2 separate regions of the Homo sapiens genome follow, and region 2 is linked to region 1. The links are contacts of gene promoters, found by promoter capture Hi-C in human tissues and cell types (Jung and others, 2019). All regions are on one chromosome and are shown on one strand. The core of a region is centred on a gene start or on the middle of the fragment in contact, and the rest is flanking DNA. Distances in the headings are between cores, read along the strand shown. Region 1 holds the start of VPS35 (VPS35 retromer complex component). Region 2 has its middle 75 kb from the start of DNAJA2-DT.

What was found. Contacts are between HindIII fragments. The study calls those that stand out against the background at their distance.
Region 2: a fragment that was not itself captured here is called in contact with the fragment with the promoter of VPS35 in region 1 in 1 of the 25 tissues and cell types used here (lymphoblastoid cells).

Annotation. Positions count from the first base shown.
Region 1 is chr16:46,687,641-46,691,052 of GRCh38, reverse strand. It overlaps VPS35 (VPS35 retromer complex component), which reads left to right and starts at 1,875. Exons shown (of 17, transcript NM_018206.6): 1 at 1,875-1,922. The coding sequence starts at 1,920. ORC6 (origin recognition complex subunit 6) reads right to left here and starts at 1,394. Exons shown (of 7, transcript NM_014321.4): 1 at 1,283-1,394; 2 at 1-62. The coding sequence starts at 1,347. RefSeq lists enhancers at 571-640, 691-770, 1,008-1,706, 1,707-2,404 and silencers at 1,111-1,410, 1,731-1,970, 2,121-2,170. The HindIII fragment of the contact is 11,418 bases long and covers 1-3,412 here.
Region 2 is chr16:47,047,156-47,050,567 of GRCh38, reverse strand. No RefSeq gene overlaps it. Among named protein-coding and RNA genes, the nearest start is that of DNAJA2-DT, 75 kb to the right of the region's middle. The HindIII fragment of the contact is 9,133 bases long and covers 1-3,412 here.

The sequences.
Region 1 (3,412 bases), core at 626-3,125:
TGGTGCGTGCGGAGAGGCCGACACACTTCACCCGGGACAGGCGCAAGTACTCCTCTGCTTTCCTGGTTAAAAGGGCAGTGTGTTCGCTACAACTTATTCAGAAGTTTGCTCAACACGTTGGTAAACAATGAATACAGCCTGGTTAGCTTCACACTAAGCCTAACTCCTGTGGCTCGTTTATCTGGGGCTGGGAATGAAGGTCATATCCTCTGGTGAGAGGAAGACAGAACCAGCACTGACTCCAAACATCACTGTGCTCAAATGCTTTCAGGCAAAAGGAAGTTAAATTTTGACAAAAAAATTACCCTTCTTTCCTCCTTCCATTACTGGAACAAGCACGAACTATCAGAGACAGGCAGGTTAGACCAGGGTTCCTCCTTTCCTCCTATTTCCTTTAAATCAGTAGTTCTTAAACTTGATGGTAGGCGAAAATCACCTTGGGGACTTGCAAATTACTGGGTCCCAGGCCGAGTTACTGATCAGCAGGCTTGAGGTGGGACCCAAGAATTTGTATTTCTAACAAGTGACAAGATGATATGGCTGTTGCTGGTCCAGGAACCACATTTTGAGAACCACTGTTCTAAATGACTACCGAGTCCTGCAGGTTTGTCTTCAAATCTTTTAAGTGCTGTTTTCCTTGCCTTCCCTCGCCTGACTGCTCCACGTTTTAGCTACAATGGCTTTATTTCGAACCCCGGATCCCGCTTCCCATCTCAACGCTTTTACAGGAGCTGTCGCCCCTGCCTGGGCTGCTCTTGCCATATCTTTCCTCGCCTAGCATCTGCCATCAATCCGGCCTCAGCGGGAACGGCGCCTGCTTTTCCGAGTTTTGTTTGTTTCTTTGTGTTAAAGGCAGCCGCTAGGCCGCGCTCCACCCCAAGCCCAGTGGCTCAGGAGCATTGCCCGGTTAAGGTCTACACAGTCCTCGCCCTTACAGACAGCGGGGTCTGCGCCTCGTTGTCGGGTTCCCCGCTATAAACCCGACTGCAGTAGGCGTTGGCGGAATGAACGGAAAGTTCTCCCTGGCTCATTTTTCTACCCACGGACAGGGCTGGCTGTTCCCAGGGACGTGTGCCATCGCCGTTTGCTATCGCCCTTCTTGCCATCTCATTCAAGCTCACGGCCGAGAAGTTTTTCTTGAAGTAGGCCCTAAACCCCGCCCGGCCCCAGCGCTCCCCGTCACTCCCCCGCCGCCCGTCGCCTGGGAAGGGCGCGGGCCTCACCTGAGGGCCCAGGGCCGCGAGGCGGAAGCCCAGCCCTGGTCTTGCGCGGCCGAACTCACCTCAGCATGTCGGGCTCGGCGAGGCCCAGGCGCGGGGCTAGGCGCCCGATCAGCTCCGACCCCATGGCGCCGGCACTAAAGCGAACAATTCCCGTGAACGCCGCGGGTCAACGAAACCCGCGCGCAAAGGCTGCACCGGCCAGTGAGAGCCAGGCCCCACCCCCGGCGCATCTGGATTGGTTAGGACAGGACGTTGAGACCGTCCCACAAACCAATCAGGGTCTTCCTTTTGCGCATGCGCATCAATAGCGCAATCGCCAACGCAGATGCGGTGAACGTGGACTTGTCGGCTCCCCCTCCTTCCATTCCTTCTTGACAAACTCATCACACACTGCCTTTCCCTCCTGTTGTCTCCTGCCTGCCGCCGGGCGATCCCCACTGCCCTGCACTGCTCCGCCCACTCTCGCACGCTGTGGTGAGATTGGCTGGCGCTCAGGTCCGTCCATCTAGCGTTAAGTGACAGGGCCAATAAGCACGCGAGACTCGGGTTCCTAGAAGTAGGCCAATCAATGAGCCGCCTGTAGGGCCCGGGGGCGGGGCTAGAGAGGGCGGGGCTTGGAGGGGCCGCAGCGTCACATGACCGCGGGAGGCTACGCGCGGGGCGGGTGCTGCTTGCTGCAGGCTCTGGGGAGTCGCCATGGTGAGTGCTGAGGGGGCAGTGGCACCTGGGTCGACCCTCCTTGTAGCCCCTGCTCTCTCCCACCGCCCCGCACTCCAGCGAGTGGAGAAGGGGCCCCACAGACCGTTCGGGATTAAGACCAGCCCGATTTGGCCTGCGGGATAGGGGACAGCAGGAGGAAGGCCGCGGGCAGGCTGATCCGGGCCGGGGTGGGCGGCGGCTCTTGGCTGCGGCCGTTGCTGAGAGACGGGGCGGCCTCTCTGTGGGGTTGACTTGGCATGTAGGCTTTGGGGTCCATGAAGGCCTGCGGCCTCCTTTAAGTGGAATCGGTCACCTGCCTACCACGAGGGGACCGGTAGTCCTAGGTCTGAGCGTCTGGCCCCCGGGGCGCGTGGAGGCCCTGAGACTCGGAGGTGGCGCCGGGACCCGCCCAGATGTTGCGTTTCTACCTTTGTGCCTAGTTGTGCTCGGCCGTCCCCACGCCCTCCTGGAGGGGTCGCAGTGATTCCTTGGCCTTTCTTGGCCTCATACCCGCCTTCGGCTGCAGTGTTTGTCAGCGAGTTCTGGGGACCTGCTTACATGAATTTCCTGGAAGGACTCAGGCTGTCTTCTAATCCTGACGGTCGCAAAGGAGACTGATTGTTTACTTTAGCATTTGTGCATTGGGCGCACCTTGCCTCTTTTGTCTCGCCATTGATAAAATCCAAGTATTTGACTTGCTGGAAGCAGTACTTCTCCTTAGGGCCCGTCTATGACGGCAGCAAATCGTGGTGTGGCTGTTGGCCGGTAAACTTGAACTTCCTCAAAATGTGAATCTTTGTGTCTGGTTCCCACAAAGGCAAGTTGTCACTTGCATTTTATTAGCGTTTAACATAGCCTGCACTGTGTAAATAAATTTTTTGAGTATATACTGTATGTCCGCTTTAATTACCTTACTCACTCTGTGTAGATAGGCTTCTGTAAATCTGTAAGCCTGGAAACAGATTTCACTTTAAATGTCTTAATGCCAGAAAGGATTAAGTGTTTTACAAATACTATTTTCATATAACGTGTTGCCGTACAAGGTGATTTTGCCTGTTTCTCAGGATTTTTATAATTGGGAATTGATACAAGACCGGCGCAAAATTTAACTTTAGGATTTGTGTGTTTCCAGCGTTTATGGATTGACATTTATATTGTTTTGTAATGGAAAACACTTAATTGAGGATGTATTACACACTCCGATTCTTTGTTGGGTGAACCAGTTGGGAGCAATCAGCCAGACACACAGTCTTGTCCTCATGAATTTTATTGGGAAAGGAAACTTGAGTATTCGTTCTTTCACAGTCACTGTCTATAATTTAGGCAGCTCGCTTAGTCTTCTTGGTGTCGCACTTTTGCATCCGAAAGCAAGTGTTGGCGGCCCCTTTGGCCCTTCCCAGCCCTAAAATTCCAGAATCCACTTCAATTCATCAAACATCTTGTGTGCCTTCAGTGTCACGGACTGTGGCCCTGGGTACCAATGTCGAACT
Region 2 (3,412 bases), core at 420-2,919, 360 kb before region 1:
GACCTGCCCAAGTGCCCCGCCACCCCACTCACGGAAATGAGCTTGCACGTACACCCTTAAGCAAGTAACGTCAACCTCACTGAAATGTTCATAGGGAAGGAAAGAGTTCACGGTGCACACCCCTCACCAAATAACATCCACCCTGTCCCTTGGTCATCTGTGGGCAGCAAGGTCAATACCCCCACCTGCTGGGGGAGGGAGGGAGGCTGCCACCCACATCCCACTTCCAAAGGGCTGGTTTAGGGGTGGAGTGAGGGTGGGGGCTCCCAGCTGGTGGTGCCTTCCAGAGAAGGAGCTGACTGGGGTGGGTTGACAGCTTTTTCTGATGTGTCAATAAATCACAAATCACTGCCTGAATCACCAGAACCAACTGTCACTTTATAAATTCCAATCCACAGAAACCCATTGCCCCTTCCCCAGCGCATTCCCTTCCTAAGGCAGCTGCCAAACATAAAGCCCTGGTTCTGGGCATCCCACATGCCTCTGCGAGTCTTTGGCAGCTCGAGTGGGTGCTGGGGTGGGCGTGGGGGAGAGAGTGCGGTGCTTTCTGGGTCTTTAGAGGAGATCAACCAGTGGCCAGGAGGTCTGGCTTCTGGTCCCAGCTGAGTCCTGACTTACAGTGGGACCTTGGGCGAATCCCTTTCCCTCTGTTGGCCTGCTGCCTCTAACCAGCATTTACTGAGCTCACTGAGTGCTGCAATTGACTTGTAATATGTCTTTGAGTCCTAACAATCATTCCATAAGGCAGTTACTCGCTATTACTGTCGTCTTTTTTTGTGATGGATTTAGAAGCCTCAAACATGCAGAGGTTGAAGAACGCGCCTAAAGGTCCTAAGGCTAGCAGTGGGCAGAGCCGTGGTCTCCAACCATAGCCCTGCATGCGCAGCTGCCCATGCACTGGGCTGGGGGATTCTTTGGCGCAGTGGGAGCCTGTAACCTTTCTGCAAGGGATTTGGGGGATGGAGAGGAGACACAAATCATGGAAAGCACACTTTGGATTCCTGATCACTTAGGGAGGCCCTCAGGGTGAGTGGGGAGAAGGCAGGGGATGTCTCCACCCTGATTCCTGGAGTGAGAGCCTCCAGGGATTCCAAGTCCTGCCCAGGGCAAAGGCCAGGGGCCACTTCATGGACACCTTTGCCTCTCGAACCCCGCCAACCACAAGGTGACCATGGACTCCTCTCCCTCAAAAAATCAAGGCCCCACATGGCTGGCTCGGGCAGTCCTGCCCAGAACACAGGGGTGGCATGAATAAGCCCTGTGCCACACTGGTGCTGTGATTTGGGGGTTCAGAGAGGGTGTAGTCTCAGTACTATTTGCCCTTCACTGGGGCTCCTCTGCAGCGGGCATTGAGAACCAGGGGCCTTCCCTGGCTGCCGCAATCCCTGCAGAGACCCACAAGGAGGAGAGTCCCGGGAGGCCCTGGAAGCCTTGGTGGAGAGGGGACAAGACTCCAGTCCCTGCCACGTCATGCTTCCCAGGGACCCCAGCCAAGGTCCTAGGTTACAACTCATGGTTTCAAGAGACAGAGACCTGAATCCAACCAACTCAAGTAAAGGGGGCTTATTCAGAGGATACCGGGGCTGGTCACCACTGGGGTGCCTCAGGGACAACTGGAATAAAGGACTCAAACACCACAGGATGCTGCCTGTCCCTGCGCTCCCCATCTCTGAAGCTGCCTTCCTGCTGCTGCCTGGCCTCCTGTGCAGGGGAAGAGCAGGGCTGCCATGGCTCCAGCCATCGCCAGAGGGATATTGCCTCCCTTGCCTTAGCACCAGCCTAACGCATCCCAGACAGAGGCTGTGGTTGGCCAAACAGAGACCAGTAGCCCATTCCTGGCCCAATCAGCTTTGGCAAGGGGACAAGGCCATATGTCAGAAGCAGACCCGCCAGGCTTACCTGCATCCAGATCGATCCCAGAGAAGGAGACGCTCTGGGGACCAGGAAGCCACTCCAACTGGGGTCTGTTGGAGCCTCTCTGAGCCTTCATTTCCTCACCAGTGAATTGAAGTGATATTTGGCCAGCTCAGTGGCTCACGACTATAATCCCAGTGCTCTGGGGAGCAGAGGAAGGAGGATTGCTTGAGGCCAAGAGTTTGAGACAAGCCTGGCAACATAGTGAGATTCCATCTCCACAAAAATACAAAAAATAATTAGTTGGGCATGTGGTGCCGCTTGTAGTCCCAGCTACTCAGGAGGTTGCGGTGCAAGAATCGCTTGAACCCAGGAGTTTGAGGCTGCAGTGAGCCTTGATTGCAGCACTGCGCTCCAGCCTGGGTGACAGAGCAAGACACTGTCTCAAAACAAAACAAAACAAAGCAAAAAGGTGATAGGTACCTTCTTCATGGGCAACTGTGTGTTATTGATGAGATGGTGCATGCAGAAAGAGTGTTTGGTGGCTGAAAGGACTTGACAAAGATTAGCTTTGGATTATTGCAGCTGTTGATGGTGTTGCTAATCGAAGGACTTGCTCTGCCAAGGACTCCAGCAAGGACTGAGGTTCCTGCTATGCAGACTGTGGGTAGAGGCTTAGTGCTCCCGAGCCCTGCTTCTCCCATGGTCCCCCAGTGGCCTCCTGAGTGGGCCATGGCCCTGAGCTCAGAGGGCACCAGGACCCTCCCCAGGCCGGCTGAAGAGGCAGATTCCAGAACAGCCTCCTCCCCAGCTGGGAACACCTCCCCAGATCTCAGTTCCCTTGCCTATCAGATGGAGGACATCAGATCTGCTTTCCTCTTCTGCAGTGGTGAGGAACAAGCAAGAAGACATGAGTGGAAGGAAAAACTGATGTGTCTTATTAGCAGTTTATTGTTGTTATTAATTATCAGCTCCAGAAAACTGCTGGGATTACAAGCCTGTGTTTTCTCACATCTCTCTAAAGGCCATTACCACGAGGGGAGCCAGCAGACTTAATTTGTGAATGCTAGCTACTAAATTATGCAAAACCAGATCTGCTAATGAATTTCTCCCATGGTGGCGGCTGGTGCTGAGGAGTTTGCAGGTACACTTCTTGGAGAGAGGGGTGGAAAGGGGCCTGGGTATTCACTGTTCCACCTCCACACTCAGAACTCACCTGCCTTCACCCACCCCTGGGACAAAGGCTGCCTAAAATGTGAATTCCCAGCTGGGAGAGGCATCAAGATGGCTGAATAGATTATTTGGTCATTCAAAGTGGTTTTTGTTTTTTTCAGTTTGAATAGACTCAAATAGCTTGTCTCAGAAGGAAGAAAAAGGCTGCTGTTGAATTGAATGTAAGCCTGCAAATGACTTCTCTTTCTCTCTCTCTGCTCTATTTCCGAAAGCTATTTATAGATTAGAAGCCTGTCATTGCAAATTAGGGACATTTTCTTCCTCCCCCATCCTCTACTACTCCAGCCCCAGCTCCTTGAGGGCGGTGGTCACTGGGCAAGCCCAG